Regions from separate parts of the Homo sapiens genome. Here regions 1, 3, 4 and 5 are each linked to region 2. The links are contacts of gene promoters, found by promoter capture Hi-C in blood cells and fetal thymus (Javierre and others, 2016). All regions are on one chromosome and are shown on one strand. Each heading gives the region's core, a stretch centred on a gene start or on the middle of the fragment in contact. The rest is flanking DNA. Distances are from core to core; before and after follow the strand shown. Region 1 has its middle 63 kb from the start of CCNE1. Region 2 holds the start of C19orf12 (chromosome 19 open reading frame 12). Region 3 overlaps VSTM2B-DT (VSTM2B divergent transcript). Region 4 overlaps URI1 (URI1 prefoldin like chaperone). Region 5 has its middle 30 kb from the start of URI1.

Region 1 (3,966 bases), core at 438-2,937, 160 kb before region 2:
GGTGACAGAGCAAGGCTGTCTCAAAAAAAAAAAAAAAAAGCTGGGCCCAGTGGCTCACACCTGTAATCCCAGCACTTTGGGAGACCAAGGTGGCTGCATCACTTGAGGTCAGGAGTTTGAGACTACCCTGGCCAATGTGGTGAAACCACATCTCTACTAAAAAAAAAAAAAAAAAAAAATTAGCCAGGGATGGTGCTCGTGGCCCATGCCTGTAGTCCCTACTACTCCAGAGCCTGAGGTAGTAGGATCGGTTGCTTGAATCTGGGAGGTAGAGGTTGCAGTGAAATCACACCACTGTACTCCAGCCTGGGTGACAGAGCAAGACTCCATCTCAAAAAAAAAAAAAAAAAAAAAGTCTAGCCCGGAGCCCAAGCAGGGTGGCCCTGGATGCATTCTGTCCGATGACTGAATGAATGGATCATGGGTCCCCACCCATGTCAGGACTGTATGCTCCGGACACAGGCACCCCAAATCATTTCTGACGCTGGGTGCACAGTTGGAGCTCTCAATAAGGGCTTGATGCTGGCCAGAGGGGCTGAAGAGAGGAGGGGACTAACTCCCCCTCCCTAATTCTAGGCCAAGGCAGGAGAAGGATGAAAAGACTCCGAGGAGGAAGTCCTTGAAGTGATGAAATGAAAGTAATCCTGATTGGCTTCACTTAGAGTAGTTCAGAGGAGGAAGAGCAGAGAATCAAATGAAGCCCGTCCCCAGGTCCCCAGGGCTCAGCTGCTCTCCTTCCTCTAGCAACACAACAACGGTGTAGAGTGCGTGGGGGCCCCACTGCCACTGGACCACTTGGGAGAGGTGAATGGTACTCACCTCGCCTCTTCTGCAGCAGAGAAGTGGGGAGGATATATCAAGAGGAAAACAGAGAGGAGAGTCAATGAGAGACGGAGGTGATGAAACATGAGAAAGAAAGAGAAATGGTACTTAGCACAGGAGACACAGAAGGAGGCTGGAGAGGTGGAGCGGGTTCAAAAAAGAGAGAGGAGCTGGTAGTCTCCCCTCTGCCCTGCACACCCCCTTCACCCTCCTCCACTGGCTCTGTGTACCCCTCCACAGACTCTATCTGTGGATGCCTCGCTCTGCCTTCTGGGCAGGTGGACCTGGGAGGCCCTAGCAGGAAACTGGGGGGCAGAGGAGAGCACCTAGAGTGGGGGTTCCCTGAGCTCCTCCTCCTTCTTCGGTCACCACTGCTATCAGGGAGTGCTGCCTACACAGCCACCTTGCCCTGCGTCAGAGAACGCCTCCTCACGTAGCCCTGCGGCCCCAGGGATGGGAACAGCCCACTGCTACTAGACCCAGGGTACCACTCCTCCTCCTGAGGTCCCCCATGCAAACAGTTATTTATAAAACTCCGCCTGGATGGCCAGATTGAGCAATCCACCCAATGGGTCCTGGATGATACAGGGGCATTTGGGGCTTTTAATCCCCAGGAACGGAAGAACCCCTCTATGGAGGAGAGAGGCCCGTGCCTCTGATTTGAGAGGGTGTCCTCACTTCAGAGGTCACGGAGCATCCCCTGGAGTGGAGCACGGCCTCTTTTGGAAGGCAGCAGCCAGCACAGACTTCTTAGAAGGCCCTGCCCTCTGCTGAGTACCTATGAATGGCTGTTTGTTTTCTGTTGTTGTTTTTTTATTTGTTTGTTTTTGTTTTGTTGTTGTTGTTTTTGAGATAGTCTCACTGTTTCACCCAGGCTGGAGTTTAGTGGTGCAATCTCGGCTCACTGCAACCTCTGCCCCCTGGGTTCAAGCAATTCCCCTGCCTCAGTCTCCTGAGTATCTGGGATTACAGGCGCCCACCACCACGCCCGGCTAATTATTGTATTTTTAGTAGAGATGGGGTTTCACCATGTTGCCCAGGCTGGTCTGGAACTCCTGACCTCAGGTAATCCACCCACCTCGGTCTCCCAAAGTGTTGGGATTTTAGGCATGAGCCACTGCGCCCAGCCGCGAATGGCTATTTGATGAGTGAGTCCCAGGCTCAGCTGCAGCTGTCTTCAGAGGACAACCCTTAAGATAAATAAATAAAGCCTCCCCTGACTGTGCATGCCCATGTCCAGACTCCCAGCTCTATTTTTAGAATGTAGGACAACTTTCTCCCGGAATAGACAAGACACGCTAATCCAGGAGGGAGGCCTGGAGAGATGAAGACGTCGAGTCCAGATATGAATTAGTCGTGAGTATATTATTTGAAGAAATGTTGAACAGCTAGGCAAATATTTGATACCTTTGAATTGGAGCTGGCGTTTTCACAGGCAGAGTGCTGGCAGCTGCTGAGACATCCCCCTTACTGGTGGCATACCTTGCTGTCACACCCGGTGCTGCAGGCCACCTCTGTGGTACACTGAGAAGTAATTAAAGTTGCATGCCTGCTGGAATCCTCCGCAGCCATGCACCAAGCCTGGGTCTCCGGGACAGTGCTTGGCATGTGAGTGGATCCAAATCGCCTTTTCTTTTTTAAAAGAAATATTTATTTTCCTTAAACATACCATCATCTTATTAAAAGAATGAAGTTTCTGCCTCAGTGGGGCTCCTATTTTTGGAAAGAAAACATGATCTGTGGTTTGGACTCTCTAGTCTGTGATCGTGCGGAGGGGGTTCCCAGGAAAGACACCCGCCTTCCCTTGGCTCAGGAAACAGGCCTTGCCTATAAGGCAGGAGGATATGGGGGGAGACCTCAAGGTTTGGGGGCAGCTGTGGGAGTCTCTGCACACTGGCAGAGAATTAACTAACCTCTTGGAGCTTAGAGGGAAAACCCCGGGGAACAATGATGTCGGGGGCACGGTCAGCAGAGTGGCCGAGCCATCTGTACACCAGGTACCTCATCCGGGAGTGGGGGCTGGCATTGGCATCCCCAGTTTACAGAGGGGGAAACAGAAAATCCGCGATATGGCCAACACCAGTGATGTCAGAGCCGAGCCAGGGCATGACGGAGCGAGTATGGGAAGCAGTTTGCAGACCACCCCATGGGGTTTACAACAGCAAAAGCTAATACTCTTCGAGCTCTTGCCTGGGCCTGGGGCTCTACCTGCCTCGCTCAGTCCCCTGTCCCCAGGCTCAGAGGATTCTGGCCCCCCCCCCGGTGACAGTCCCCTCCCCCTCCCCCCTCGCCCCGAGCCTACAGCCCGTTCTGCAGGGGTCATGCCTTGCTCTTGACGATCAGGGCGATCTGCAGGTGCTCCTGGTGGGAGCCTGGCCCGCCCTCCCCTTTTCTGCACCCCCTCCAGGACCCGCAGCCAGCCAGCTCTGAGGTTAATTCTGTGACAGTGTGCAAATACGGCTGCCGCCAAATCGCAGCCTCGTGCCCGCAGCCTCGCGCCTCAGGGGTAAGGCCTGATTTCTGAGCTAAGGGAACCTGGGAGCCTTGCGAAGCCTCCACAAGGCACGCACTTCCATGAACCCCATTTTAGAGATGAGAAAACCGAGTTAGAGAGGGACGCACGTCACCCCCTGGGCACGGCACCGGCCACCGCGCGCTGGCTCCCAGGAGACGTGGGGCTCGGTTTCTGCTGGGAGAAGCCGAGCAAAGCCAGAGGCTGTTGGGGACTTCCCGGGAGAGCGGCGCGGGCGCGGGGGCGCGGGGGCGCTGGGTGGGGGTCTGAGCACCAGCCTGGCCAGGCTTCCCCGCTCCGCAGATGCCCGGGCGCCGCCACCAGATGGCAGCAGACGCTTTGCGATCGAGCGGCCGGGAGGGCGCGGGGCCGGGTCGGAGCGGGGTCAGGGGAGCCCACCCGCCGCGCGGCTCGGTCTCAGGGCCGCCTCCTCCCTCCGCTCCCCCGGGCTGCGCCACCCAGGCCTCCAGGAGCCCGCCAGAGCAGCACCCCGCCCGCCCTCGGGCAGCCACCTCACGCTGCTCAGGAAGGACTGATTGGCTTGGGCCGGAGCCGGGTCCCCCAGCCATCGACCCCGCGGGGAGGGCGCGGAGCGGGCGGGGACTGTGGCTGGGGAGGCCGCGGAGACCCCT
Region 2 (3,503 bases), core at 1,004-3,503:
CTTTGGAGAAGCCGCTCATTTTCACATTCTGTAATGTAAACAAGAATAATCTAGATTCATATATATTACCTCCTTTTATGTTGAGAACAACCCTATAGGATAAGTACTACTCTTGTTGCCATTTCCCAGATGAGGAAACTGAGGCACGGAGACGTGGAAGAACTTTCCCTAGGTCACTGTAAGCAGCATAAAGCATCGCTGTGTGCTGGGCCAGTGCCATTTCCGCGCCACCACCGAGACCCCACGGCACGCCTTGCTCACTGTGCAGGAGGCCGCAGTTGCCTTTAGGAGCATGAGGCACTGTGTGCTCCATCTCTGGGGTTCAGAGTGTGCGGTCATGTTATGCCTGCATTCGTATCAGAATGAGGCCCAGGAGGCTGATGGGTTGCAGATTTGCATGCAATGGCGCGATCTCGGCTCACTGCAACCTCCATCTGCCGGGTCCAAGCGGTTCTCCTGCCTCAACCTCCCGAGTAGCTGGGACTACAGGCTTGCACCAACCATGTCTGGCTCATTTTTCCATGTTTAGTGGAGATGGGGTTTCACCATGTTGCCCAGGCTGGTCTCAAAGTCCTGGCCTCAGGTGATCTGCCCGCCTCGGCCTCCCAAAGTGCTGGGATTACAGGTGTGAGCCACCGCGCTGGGCTGCATGAACCTCTTACATGCTTGCCTTCTCTGGAGGGCCTGGACTTTGAAGCTTCTTTCACTCCCAGCATCTTTCCCTACACAGGCCCTCTTCCCCACTATCTCTGGGGGAGGAGTCTGCAGGCCAGTTCTGCAATGTGCCGCCAGAGGGAGCTGCCCGCAGAGAAACGGGAGCGCCACACTCAGGCCCCAGGAAGGCAGCAAGCTGAGTTCCCCTGGCCTCAGTTCACTTTCCCTCTTGAAAGTCACCCAAACTCAAGCAAAAGCTCCGATTCAGGAATAAATGGGGTTGTTTTATCCCAGCCAAGGCCTGGGGAAGCTTGGTATTAAGAGCGTTTGTTCCATTCTTTTAAAAATGGAAAAGGGTCCGTCCTCTGGGTGCCCATGGCACCCTGGAAAGCAGGCAGAGTGCTGGTCACAGGCGGAGACTTTGAGATACCGAGACCGAGGCTGGAGTTTGGGCCCTGAAACTTTCTAACCAGGATGGCCTTGGGCAGAGCAGCCTGTGTTTAGAGCTTCCCATCTGTAATATAGCAGTGACAACCATGCCTGCTTTGCAGGGTTCCTGTTAGGATTAATTCTCTATAGAGCCCCCCAGAAGCCACTTTTGGATTTGAGATGGTTCAAGGCCAGACCTTGCATGACAAGAGTAGGGACAGCTTTCCACAGGCCTCAATAAAGTAGTATTCCCAGGCAGTTCTGCAACCCCAGCCTCATGCCCTTTGCACCTTCCTAAGAGGCTGCCTTGCCTCAGCTTTGGTCCCCATCCAAGACTCCTAAGAGCAAAGCCAGTTCTTTTCCTTTTTTTTCTTTCTTTAAGAGACGGTCTCACTCTGTCACCCAGGTTGAAGTGCAGTGGTGGGATCATAGTTCACTGCAGCCTCGAACTCCTGGGCTCAAGCAATCCTCCCGCTTCAGCCTCCCAAAATGCTGTAGGTCACAGGTATGACTCACCCACCCGGCCTAATTTTTATTATTATTTGTAGAGATGGGATGTCACTGTGTTGCCCACGCTCGAACTGCTGGGCTCAAGCAATCCTCCCTCCTCAGCCTCACTGGCAGCTGGGATTACGAGTCCCACCCAACCTGCTTCTCCTTTTGCAACCCCCAGACCCAGAGGCTCCAGAGCAGGCTCTGGAACAGAGGAAATCTGGCTCCGGCCCACACATTCACCAAATACTGACGCAGCACCCTTGACCTCCAGATGCCCCTGTGCTCTCTTCTGTGCCCAGGCTGCGGGGAGAGAGGGGTCCTCCAGGCCAAAGGGAGGGAGGTCTCCGGGAGGTCCCCGCGGTCCTGGAGGCAGGTGCGCGGGGCCCGGATGTGATCATGCGTGCGCGTGGGAGAAAGGCAGGGCTGGGCCTGCGGGAGCGCGGCCTTGCGGTTCCCAGGACTCTTCTCCGGGCGCCTCGTCTCCTTACGCCACCCGCAACCCAAGCCAGGGCCCCGGTGACAGCGGCGGGGTGGGCCAGGACCGGGGAGGGGGTGCCCAGCAGCGACCCCCGGCTCCCCCTAAGGCCGGGCGCAGCTCGGAGCCAGGAGCTGGCCCGGCGCGTGGCTTCCCGGAAGGCCCGGCGCAGCCGGAAGGTGGGACGGAGGGCGGGGCCAGCGCCGGGGCCGCCACCAAGGCCTGCGCGACCCTCCGCGGGGCTGGGGAGCTGGGCGGGGAGCCCGGGGCCTGCCAGGCCCGGGCTGCAGCCGCGTCTGATCGCCGAGCGCGCCGCGTAGACCTCCGCTCCCCCAGGTAAAGGAGCGCCCGGAGCCGGGGCGGGGCGCCTCCCAGGCCGCGCCCCGCGAGAGGAGGGGGCACCCCAAGAGCAGGCCTGGAGACCCGGGAGTGCCTTGGGGAGAGGGTCCCCGCCCTGCCGGGAGCCCGGCCCTCCCGGTGCCGGGGTGGACACTGTTAGTGTAGTCATTGTCCCTATGGAGAAACTGAGGCATGGAGAGGCTGAAGTCACACAAGTAAGCAGCAGAGCTGGGACTAGAGTCCCGGGCCCTGGCTCGCTGTCACCCAGGAGTGGCGTAGGCATGGGTGTGGTGGGTGGGGGTGGGGTGCGGGTGGTGGATGTGGTGGGAGTGGGTGAGGTTGGGTGGGGTGGGGATGTGGGTTTGGCGGGGGTGGGGTGCGGAATGTGATGGGTAGGGGTGGGGTAGAGTGGGGGTGGCTGGTGGGGCAGGGGCGGGGCTGGGGGTGGGGTGCTAGGTATTATAAATGTGAAGCGGATCCTGACAGGACACCTGTGGGGCAGCGGAGCTGGGCTGAGCCATATGGGAAGAAAATCTGGGCGCTAGTTTAGATTTGGTCAGGAAGGGTCGTTAATGCTTTAGGAGGTGAGATTAGTTTTGGGGATGGCAGGTAGTTTGTTGAGCTTTTGTTTAGACAGTCTTGCTCTGTTGTCCAGGCTGGAGTGCAATGGCGCGATCTCGGCTCACTGCAACCTCCACCTCCCTCGTTCAAGCAATTCCCCTGCCTCAGCCTCCCTAGTAGCTGGGATTACAGGCGACACCACCAAGCCTGGCTAATTTTTTTGTATTTTTAGTAGAGACGGAGTTTCACCATATCGGCCAGGCTAATCTCAAACTCCTGACCTTGCGATCCACCTGCCTCAGCCTTCTGCAATGCTGGGATTACAGACGTGAGCCACCCCGACCAATTTTTGTATTTTTTAGTAGAGACGGGGTTTCACCATCTTGGAATAGCACCTGTAGTTCCAGCTACTCGGGAGGCCGAGGCGGAAGAATTGCTTGAGGCCAGTTCCCGACCAGCCTAGGCAACACAGGGAGACTGCGTTTCTGGAAAAAACAACAACAACACCAGCAACAACAAAAAGCAGGAAGGAAGGGGAGAGGGAAAGAGA
Region 3 (3,577 bases), core at 268-2,767, 250 kb after region 2:
CAAACTAGCTGGGACTTCCAGTATGATGCTGCATAAGAGAGATGAAGGTAGATATCTTTGCCTTGTTTCTCATTTTAGGGGAGAAGCATTCCATCTTTCACTATTAAATTTGATGTTAGCTGTAGGTTTCTTTTGTGGATGGCCCTAATCAGGTTTAGAAAGTTCTCTTAAATTCCTAGGTTGCTGAGTATTAAAAAAAGTCATGGTGGTAAACTTTTGTTAAGTGCTTTTTCTGCATCTATTAAGATAATCACATGGTTTTTCTTCTTTAGTCTGCTAATACGATACATTGATTGCAAGGTTAAACTAACCTTGCATCCTCAGAGTAAACCTCATGTGATCGTGGTGTATTATCTTTATAATATTATTAGAATTTGTTAATATTTTGGTGATAATTTTGCATCTACACTCATGAGAAATATTGATCTGTAGTTTTTAACTTCTAAAAATCCTTGTAATGTCTTCGTTGGATTTTGAAATCAAGGTAATACATCTCTTACAAAATGAGTTGGGAAGTATTCATTCCTTTTCTATATTCTGAAATAAATTGAATAGAGTTGTTACTGTTTCTTCCTTAAGTATTTGTATAGCAGATATGTGGGTCTTTAGAAAATCCAAATAGATAATCTCTGTCTTTTACTTGATGTTTAAGTCATTTACGTTTAACACAATAATTGATATGTTTGGATTTAGGTCTACGTTTTATTGTTGTTTGTTGTCCTCTCTACTTTTGTTTTTCTTTTCTTTTCTGCCTTCTTTTTTTTTCTTAAATTTCTTTTAAATTAATCTACTGGCACTTTTCTTAGTGGTTGCTCTGGAATTGTTAACTTTTCAAAACCCCCAGGTAGTTGCTTTTTGTATTTTGTCTAGAATTTTTAGTTGTAATGGGTGGGAGAGATATGTCGTACTAGGCGTAGTCAATGTTGGCTGCTTACATATTGCCTTTTGAAAAATGCAGTTTTGCTGTTCTTCATCTGTTTTTCTAGAGATCTATCTACTTCGTTCTTTTAAAATGAGTGATTTCTGGTTGTATTGAACATTTCCTTTGGTGGTGGTACTTGTTTTCCTCCTCTGTAAAATTCTGTAGTAGCCTCCCTGGATGCCCTTACTAAATGCCTGTGCATTCTATTTACCAGCTCAGTAAGCTCATCTCCCAAAGCTTCCGTGTATTTTGCTCTTAAAAATTTGCACTTGCAATCTTCAAAGGACTGCTGTTGGGCACTGGAGCCACCTGCTGGTATGGAGAGCTAAAGGTGCCTGAGGCTTACATGCTTCCCACCTCAGACATCCTGTAGCCAGTAACTGGCTAGATACAGTATATCTCAACTCTTTTGCCGTAAGACAGAACAAATCTTCTCTGTATTTACTGTGTTTTCCCACTTCCTTACTTGTTTCTTCTGGGAGTACTTCCTTAATAAACTACTTACATTCTAGTCCTTAACTACGATCATTTTCTTCCTTTTCCTTTTTTGAGTTTAATCTTCTTCTTGAGTTGTATAACATTTATTTTCACTCTTTTTATGTAAATGAATTTATCAAGAACAGTATTGAATTTATTCCACAACTTATGTTTTGTAGAACCCTGTTTTCCTTTAGCCCCTGATATTTTAATGTTTCGGTAATTTGCACTTTTAACACACAAGTAATTTAGGAGTGTAATTTTAAAATATTCTATATTTTTGTCTTTTAATTGTCAATTTCTGAGTTAATTGCATTGGGGTCTGAGAATAATATTTGTTGATATTTGATTTTCTGAAATTTGTTGAGACTTTTGTTGCAAGATTTGTTATTTGTAAGTATTCCTTATCTTCTTGAAAATAATGCACACTTTGTATTTGTTGACGGATTCTTTGTATATCTATTAGACCAAGCTTGCTACGATGTTGTACAAGTTTTCTATGTTATAAGTAATTTTTGTCTGCTGGAGCAATTTCCAATACAGTGAGCCAGAATCTCCCACTCTGATTATAGATTTATCAGTTTCTTCTTAAAATTCTGTCAGTTTTGCTTTACACATTTTTGAGGCTATGTTGCTGTGAGGTACATAAAATTCATGACTGTTATATCTCCTTGGTGAGTCCTTTCCTTTTATAATTACATGGAGTTCTTTATCTCCATAAATGCTTTTTGCCTTAAGTTAGATTTTATCTGCTACTAATATTGCTATTCTGCTTTGTTGTTGTTGTGCCAGCGATATTCTTTCCATTCCTCTATTTTTGACCTTCCTGGGTCATTTATTTTCGTGTGTCTCTTATAAGCAAAATATCACTAGATTAAGAAAAATCCAATTTGTTAGACTCTGTCCTTTAATTTATAACTTAAACCTGTTTATATTTATTACAAGTGCTGACATGATCTATTTGAACTTATTTTTACTGCTTATTTTATGTTTTCTTTTTTTGTTTGTTTTCAACAGGGTCTGATATATGTTTTCTTTACCATTTTATTTTCTTCTCTTCAACTCTTTTCCTCATTTACATTTAATTACTAAAGCTTTCATCACTTTCCTCTCCTGATTTAGAAATTACAGATTTTACTTCTATTTTTTCATGATTATCCATCCTTATTTTTCCTAACTATATTTTTTGAAGTTTAAGTTGCATTATGAAAAACCAAACCAAACAAAAAAAACCCATCAGTATTCTTACTACCAGAAATTAATCACTATAATTAATATCTTGGCATAATTGCCTTAAGGAAATCATTCTATTGCTTTTATAAAAATGAATCATGCATATCATAAAGACGTTAAATGAGGCAAAAATGTACAGTGAAGAAAATCTTTTAAAAAACCCTAAATCTCACTAACTTAGGCAAACATAATTCCAGACACCTATGTATGCTGATAGAAAGTAACATGGATACCTGGACAAATACTTATCTTTATAAAAAATGACCATCTCTAGATGTTATTTCAAAATATAAAGTATTTAATTTTACTTAATAGAAGAAAATGTAAGTGAAGTGAAACTGAGGGAACTGTGAACTTCAAATACATATTTTTTTATGTAAAATTTATTTCCCAGAAAATCCCTTAAAAACAAAAAAGAGAGATTGTGAAACACATCAGGAGTTTATAGTCATTTTTTTAAAAAAAAATTCATTTCAAGTTTCGAGTTTTCTCAAAAGTTTCAAATTTAGTCTATTGGCTCCTTTCTTTGAAAGATGAGATGTTGATTTACTCACCTCCCCGTCATTTTACCATCCTATCTCCCAAGAGTTGTTAGCTTTTTTACTTTTACCTTGTCCAGCTTAATTAATTTCACACTTTGTTCTGTCATCATAATTCCCTGAGTTACTTAATGTTTATCTATATTTAAGTGAACTCTCTGCTCATTCCTCCTTCTTCTACCCCAATGTCTCAATTCCTATGTTTATTTTTACGTATTTCTAATCTGTTAATTGCTTGGATTTAATTGTGAATAGTTCATTTTATTTTCTTGAAAAAGGCTTCTGTGTTCTACATTTCCTGAAGTATTTAACATTTCAGAATGGATGCTTCTTGCCTTTATACATGAATAACTTTGGCTGGGTGTAATATTCTTTGCTGCCTTTTCTTTCCCTCCAAACACAGACA
Region 4 (3,707 bases), core at 411-2,910, 240 kb before region 2:
TTATGCAGAATGTGTACTCTGACCACACTAGAGAAACAGAAAAATAAGTAGAAAATAATGTTTGAAAAGGAATGTATTTCCAATTTATGGGTCAATGAGCAAATCACAATAGAAATTAGAAACTATTTTTAAATGACTGATAAGGAAAATGACATACAAAATGTGTGCAGTACCTAAGGCAATGATTAAGAGAAAAATTTAAAGCTCAAAATGCATATCTTATAATAAGGAAAGGTTAATATTAGTAACCTCAACCATCATCTCTAAGGGCTAGAAAAATTACAGGCAAAGGAAAATCTTAAACAGGAAAAAAGAGAGAAGAAATCAGTAAAGTAGAAAGCAGACTTAGAAAAGAGGAAAAAAATCAAAGGCAAAAATATAAAATATAAAATTGATAAACCCTTAAGAAGAGAAATCAAGGGAGGAAAAAACCCACAAATTAAAAATTACAGTAATTAAAAAGAGGACATCACCACCAAATCTACTGATAATAAAAAGATAACAGGATATTATGATAACTCGGAGGGACAACAAGCTTGAAAACTTAGAAAGGACAATTCCTTGAAAATCACATTTTCTAAAATGATATAACTAGAAACAGAAAATCTGGATAGTCTTTGAACTTTCAAAGAAATTGAGGTCGTATCTTAAAATCTCCATACAAAATGTCCAAGAAAAATATTGGGCCCAGACGGCTTTGTTGATGAACTCTTCCAAACATTTAAGTTAGAAACAGTACGAGCCAGGCACAGTGGCTGACTAGCCTGTAGTCCATCATTTTGGGAAGCCAAGGCAGATGGATAGCTTGATCCCAGAAGTTCAAGACCAGCCTGGGCAACATAGTGAGACTCTGTCTCTACAAAAAATACAGAAAAATTAGCCAGGCATGGTGGCGCATTCCTATAGCCCCAGCTACTCGGGGAGACTGAGGCGAGAGGATCACCTGAGCCTGGGAGTTCCAGGATGCAATGAGCCAGGATTGGCCACTGCACTCCAGCCTGGATGAGAGCGAGATTCTGTTTCAAAAAAACAAAAACAAAACACACACACAAAAACCAATAACAACAGTGTATAAACTTTTATAGGATATACAAAAATGGGAGTTGTTTCATGAGACCAGCCTAATTCTGAAGCCAAATCCTTACGTCGACATTACAAGAAAAGAAAATCATAGGTTTAAGGTAGTGTTAATGTTTTTTGTTGTTTTTTTTTTGAGACGGAGTCTCACTTGCCCAGGCTGGAGTGCAGTGGCGTGATCTCAACTCACTGCAACCTCCACCTCCCGGGTTCAAGCAATTCTCATGCCTCAACCTTCCGAGTAGCTGGGATTACAGGCCCCCGCCACCACACCCAGCTTATTTTTGTATTTTTTGTAGAGATGGGGTTTCACCATGTTGGCCAGGCTGATCTCAAACCCCTGACCTCACGTGATCCGCCCACCTCAGCTTCCCAAAGTGCTGGGATTACAGGTGTGAGCCGCAGCACCCTGGTAGAGTTAATCAAAAAAAAAGAAAAAAGAAAAGAAAAGAAAGAATTACAGAATTTTGCCTCATGTAACAGAACAAAATACCTTAATAAAATATTATCAAATTTAATCTAGCAATATACAACAAGGTAAACACATCCTCTACAAATGGGTTTGCTGCAGGAATGCAATGGCATTTGAATATTTTTAAAGAATCAAAGTAATTTACCATATTGTTATCTCAAGAAACATAGAAAATACATTTGATAAAATTCAGCATCCATTAATGATAAAATTAGCAACAGGAGAAAATGTCCTTATTTTCATAACGAGTAGCTACAAAAAGCCAACTACGAACATCTGTATGGTGAAATACTTAAAACTGCCCTCCTGGTATGTAAAGCCCAATGTCCTAACTTTTATTTTACATTATATTAAAGGTTCTAGCCCATACAATAGGGCAAAAAACAAAACAAAACAAACAACCATAAAAAAAAACTTAAGAACTGGAATGAATAAAACTGTCAGTATTTACAAACAACATGCCTGTATGTAACTACACAGATACTATCAGAATGTACAGGCAAGTAATTAGAATTCAAATAAATTTAGGCCAGGCATGGTGGCTCACACTTGTTGTGGTCCCAGCACTTTGGGAAGCAGAGGCGGGTGGATCACTTGAGGCCTGGAGTTGGAGACTAGTCTGGCCAACACAGCAAACTCATCTCTATTTTTTAACAACAACAAAAAATTTTAGAACAAAGTCAATATGTAAAAATCAAGTATGTTACCAGCAAAAAAAAAAAAAAAAATGAATAGCAAGTAAATTACAAAAGGCAACAAAAAATAGTATCTAGAAATAAATCTAACACATGAAGATTTATATACTTTTAAAAGCTAATACTAAAAAGTTATAGAAGTAAATAAATTGATATACCATGTTCATAGATTTTAAAACTTAATATTGTAAACATCTTAATTCTCCTCAAACCGATCTTTAGATCCAGTGCACTCCAAGCAAAACCCCAGTAATGTTATTTTTTGAGTATTGGAAAGGTGATCCTAAAATATATACAAAAAAGCAAAGGGTCAGAATAGTAAAGACAATCTTGAAGAACAAAGTGCTAGAGGAATTTTACTACTAGATATCAAGACCTATTATAAAGCTAAAATAGTAAGAGTGTGATACTGGTGCAATTACAGGCAAATAATCCAATGGAACAGAATAGAGAAACAGAGCTACACACAAATAATCACATAATTTATGAAACAGACAACATACTCCATAAGGATTACTCTGGCTGCTAAAAGAAAGCTTAACCCCCTCCAGAATCCCTAGAATTTTTTGTTACAATATCTGGCATCCAGTTCAAAATTACAAGGTACAAGGCAATCTATAAAAACAAAAGCGGCTATAAAGAAACCAAGGGGAAGGAATAAAAGCAGACCTTCATTTGATTGACATATTGCATTTATAAAATATAATAGACTTTATGATTAATACATTCATGAAAACAGAAGAAAAGTTGCAGATGTCAACAGAAACTTGGAATCCATTTTAAAATTTCAAAACATAAATTGTATTTCTTTTACGGTTTTCCTGCTGATAAATCCAAAAGAATTATAAGCAGGAAAATGACAAAATGACATCATCCAATTTGCATTCTTAAAAAGACTACTCTGGGCCACTTTTTTTTGCTGCGTTTACTGTGAGAATGAAGACCATTCTCAGCAATCAGACTGTTGACATTCCAGAAAATGTCAACGTTACTCTGAAGGGACGCACAGTTATCATAAAGGGCCCCAGAGGAACCCTGCGGAAGGACTTCAATCACATCAACGTAGAACTCAGACTCCTTGGAAAGAAAAAAAAGAGGCTCCGGGTTGACAAATGGTCGGGTAACAGAAAGGAACTGGCTACCGTTCGGACTATTTGTAGTCATGTACAGAACATGATCAAGGGTGTTACACTGGGCTTCCATTACAAGATGAGGTCTGTGTATGCTCACTTCCCCCATCAACGTCGTTATCCAGAATGGGTCTCTTGTTGAAATCCGAAATTTCTTGGGTGAAAAATACATCCGCAGGGTTCAGATGAGACCAGGTGTTGCCTGTTCAGTACCTCAAGCCCAGAAAGATGAATTAATCCTTGAAGGAAATGACACTGAGCTTGTTTCAAATTCAGCAGCTTTGATTCAGCAACCCACAACAGTTAAAAACAAGGATATCAGGAAATTTTTGG
Region 5 (3,521 bases), core at 269-2,768, 200 kb before region 2:
GAAACCCCATCTCTACTAAAAATACAAAAATTAGCTGGGCATGGTGGCAGGCGCCTATAATCCCAGCCACCTGGGTGTCTGAGCCAAAAGAATCGCTTGAACCCGGGAAGCAGAGGTTGCAGTGAGCCGAGACCTTGCTATTGCACTCCAGCTTGGGCGACAAGAGTGAAACTCCATCTCAAAAAAGAAAGAACGAAAGAAAGAAAGAAATTGAGAAGCTGTCAAGCTCTTGGTGGCAGATAACAAGTTTTCCCAAAATCCTAATGCTCAACTTGAAAGCTTGAATTTTATCATTGGCAAAACATACTGCCAGTTGTTTCCCTTGAAGTGACAGGCTCATTTTGTTCATTTTTGAGAAAATGTCTGCCAAATACCAGAGTCTGAATATCTGTACTTTGATGTGTCAGAACTTTCTTCCAAGTAAAACAGTGTGCCATGATAAAAAGCAGCTAGTTCAGCTCGCAACTCAAGCAACTGCACCAGTGTCTCACCTTGAAAAGCCATTGTACCCAGTGTGTGGCGGAATCCTGTTCTGTGTTCACTCCGTCACAATCTTCAGAAGTGGACTCGAGAATTCAAATTTAATAACACTAATTCTTACTGCTTCATTAGGAACATTCTTAAGTGAAAGTGGATTGTTTTAAACTGTGAGTAGACTCACACTTGTAATCCCAGCACTTAGGGAGGCTGAGGTGAGCAGATCACCTGAGGTCGGGAGTTCGAGACCAGCCTGGGTAACATGTCGAAACCCTGTCTCTAATAAAAATACAAATATTAGCCAGGCATGGTGGCCCATGCCTGTAGTCCCAGCTACTAGGGAAGCTGAGGCAGGAGAATCGCTTGAACCCGGGAGGTGGGGGTTGCAGTGAGCCGAGATTGCACCACTGTACTCCAGCCTGGGCCACAGAGCAAGACTCTGTCATAAATAAATAAATAAAATAAAATAAGTTAGCCGGTTGTGGTGGCGCACACTTGTATTCCCAGCTACTCGGGAGGCTGAGGTGGGAGGATTGCTTGAGCCTGAGCAATTGGGGCTGTGGTGAGCCATGATTGTGCTGCTGCACTCCAGCCTGGGTGACAGAGGGAGATTCTATCTCAAAACATAAAAATCAATAAAAAGTAAAAATAAATAAATAAACTGTGAGTGGTGAAGAATACAATGAGTTCTAGTACAGTCAGTGCCACTGACAAATTAACGTCAAGTACAAGCAGTATTACTCGCTGTTGGTTTTATACCATCTGTGCAAATACCAAAATAAAAGGTAAATGACATCTTAGTATTATCGTAAATAAATATAAATTGTAAAATGGTTTTTACCTTGTAGACCCCTTGAAAGAATCTCTGGGATCCCAGAGGTCTACAGATTCAACTTTTTTTTTTCTTTTTTTGAGACAGAGTCTCACTCTGTCACCCAGGCTGAAGTGCGATCTCGGCTCACTGCAACCTCCACCTCCCACGTTCAAGTGATTCTCGTGCCTCAGTGTCCCAAGTAGCTGGGGCTACAGGCATGTGCCACCACGCCTAGCTAATTTTTGTATTTTTAGTAGAGATCAGGTTTCACCTTGTTGGCCAGGCTGGTCTCGAACTCCTGACTGCAAGTGATCCACCCACTTCTGCCTCCCAAAGTGCTGGGATTACAGGTGTAAGCCACCATGCCAGGCCCCAAATTAAACTTTGAGAACTTCGATAGAGCTTGGCAGAGTGCCTGGCATACAGTAGCAATCCAATAAATAATTAGTTCAATAAATCAATGAACTAATAATTTGTATTTATTTTACTTTTCAAAATAAAGATAGAAAGCTGGGCGTGAAGGTTCACACCTGTAATCCCAGTGCTTTGGGAGGCTGAGGTGGGAGGATCACTTCAGGCCAGGAGTTCAAGATCAGCCTGGGCAAAGTTGCAAGACCCCATCTCTCTACAAAAAAAATTAAAAATTAGCCTGGAGTGGTGATGCATGCCTGTAGTCAAGAATACTTGGAAGGCTGAGGCAGGAGGATCACTTAAGCCCAGTACTTGGAGGTTACGGTGAGCTATGATCTTGTCACTGCACTCCAGCCCGGACAAAGAGTGAGACTCTGTTTTTAAAAACAAATAAATAAATAAAGATAGATCTCCTCCTGTCTTTTTATGGGAAAGGAGGCTATTTCTCTAAGGAACAAGACAATTTTGATCCGACATCCTATTCCGAGCGGATTGCAGGTCAGTTCATGTCCTGGATGAACTGATTTGTCAGGGGACCTTTCCCCAGACCCTTCAGACCCTTTTTTTTCTTTTTTTTATGTTTTTTTTTGAGACAGAGTCTTGCTCTGTTGCCAGGCTGGAGTGCAGTGGCGCGATCTCAGCTCACTGCAACCTCTGCCTCTCGGGTTCAAGGGATTCTCCTGCCTCAGCCTCCTGAGTAGCTGGGATTACAGGTGAGTGCCACCATGCCCAGCTAATTTTTGTATTTTTAGTAGAGACAGGGTTTCACCATGTTGGTCAGGCTGGTCGCAAACTCCTGACTTCATGATCCACCCACATTGGCCTATGGAATTACAGGTGTGAGACACCATGCCGGTCCCCCAGACCCTTTTCTTGTTAAGGTATCTCATGACCTCCTCCAAACTAGAGAGGAAACATGATCCAGTTCTGATTACCATCATAATTTCTGCGACATGGAAGGTCAGAGAATAATAGCTAGGAATCAGCCTCTGCGGATCAGCCAAGCCAGGGGTTCCCAGCTCTGGCTGATCATCAGAACCACCTGGGAAGCTTTATTTCTTATAAAAAATTTCAAGCAAGTAAAAGGGTAGAACAGCATAGTGAGCCCCCATGTATCCATCATCTGGACTCAGCAATGGTCACTTCATGGCCAATTTCATTTCTTCTGTACCTCCCCCTACTGCCTCCCCTAGCTATTTTGAAGCAAATCCCCTAAATTCTATCATTCCACCCATCAATATTCAGCAGGTATCTCCAAAACATAAGTATGTAAAAATACAACCATTATCACATCTAAGGCAAAATAGTGATAATAATTCCTCCTTTGGGAGGCCAAGGCAGGAGGATCACTTGAGGCCAGGAGTTTGAGACCAGCCTGGGCAACTTAGCAAGACCCTGTCTGAAAAAAAAAGGTGGGGGAGAGAGAGAGAGAGAGACAGAAAAGAGAAAGAAAGAAAGAAAAAGAAAGAGAGAAAGAAAGAAAGAAAGAAAGAAAGAAAGAAAGAAAGAAAGAAAGAAAGAGAAAGAGAAAAAGAAAAGAAAGAAAAGGAAGAAGGAAGGAAGGAAAAGAAAGGAAGGAAGGAAGGAGAGAAAAGCGGGGAGAGAGGGAGAGAGGCAGGAGAGGGAGAGAAGGAGGGAGGGAGGAAAGAAGGGAGAGAGGAAGGAAGGAAGGAAAGAGAAAGGGGAGAGAGAGGGAGAGATGCAGGAGAGGGAGAGAAGGAGAGAGGGAGGAAGGAAGGGAGGGAGGGAAGGAGGGAGGGTGGGAAGGACGGAGGGAGGGAAGGAGGGAGGGAGGGAGGAAGGCAAAGGAAAGAAAGAG

The links. Contacts are between HindIII fragments. The CHiCAGO score rates a contact against its expected background, and 5 or more counts as called.
Region 1: a contact is called between a fragment that was not itself captured here and the fragment with the promoter of C19orf12 in region 2, in 5 of 17 cell types (naive CD8 T cells, naive CD4 T cells, non-activated CD4 T cells and 2 more). The highest score is 7.8, in naive CD8 T cells.
Region 3: a contact is called between a fragment that was not itself captured here and the fragment with the promoter of C19orf12 in region 2, in 1 of 17 cell types (non-activated CD4 T cells). The highest score is 5.9, in non-activated CD4 T cells.
Region 4: a fragment that was not itself captured here is called in contact with the fragment with the promoter of C19orf12 in region 2 in 7 of 17 cell types (naive CD8 T cells, total CD4 T cells, activated CD4 T cells and 4 more); the score reaches 10.0 in naive CD8 T cells.
Region 5: a fragment that was not itself captured here is called in contact with the fragment with the promoter of C19orf12 in region 2 in 2 of 17 cell types (non-activated CD4 T cells and activated CD4 T cells); the score reaches 6.1 in non-activated CD4 T cells.

What each region holds. Positions count from the first base shown.
Region 1 is chr19:29,873,370-29,877,335 of GRCh38, reverse strand. No RefSeq gene overlaps it. Among named protein-coding and RNA genes, the nearest start is that of CCNE1, 63 kb to the right of the region's middle. RefSeq lists a silencer at 3,587-3,966. The HindIII fragment of the contact is 7,711 bases long and covers 1-3,966 here.
Region 2 is chr19:29,714,011-29,717,513 of GRCh38, reverse strand. It overlaps C19orf12 (chromosome 19 open reading frame 12), which reads left to right and starts at 2,253. Exons shown (of 3, transcript NM_031448.6): 1 at 2,253-2,389. RefSeq lists enhancers at 894-1,113, 1,659-1,758 and a silencer at 1,929-2,718. The HindIII fragment of the contact is 2,629 bases long and covers 967-3,503 here.
Region 3 is chr19:29,465,665-29,469,241 of GRCh38, reverse strand. All of the region lies in intron 1 of VSTM2B-DT (VSTM2B divergent transcript), which reads left to right. Among named protein-coding and RNA genes, the nearest start is that of VSTM2B-DT, 58 kb to the left of the region's middle. The HindIII fragment of the contact is 712 bases long and covers 1,162-1,873 here.
Region 4 is chr19:29,956,462-29,960,168 of GRCh38, reverse strand. All of the region lies in intron 1 of URI1 (URI1 prefoldin like chaperone), which reads right to left. It also overlaps the pseudogene RPL9P32. Among named protein-coding and RNA genes, the nearest start is that of URI1, 16 kb to the right of the region's middle. The HindIII fragment of the contact is 2,245 bases long and covers 538-2,782 here.
Region 5 is chr19:29,910,702-29,914,222 of GRCh38, reverse strand. No RefSeq gene overlaps it. Among named protein-coding and RNA genes, the nearest start is that of URI1, 30 kb to the left of the region's middle. The HindIII fragment of the contact is 2,473 bases long and covers 282-2,754 here.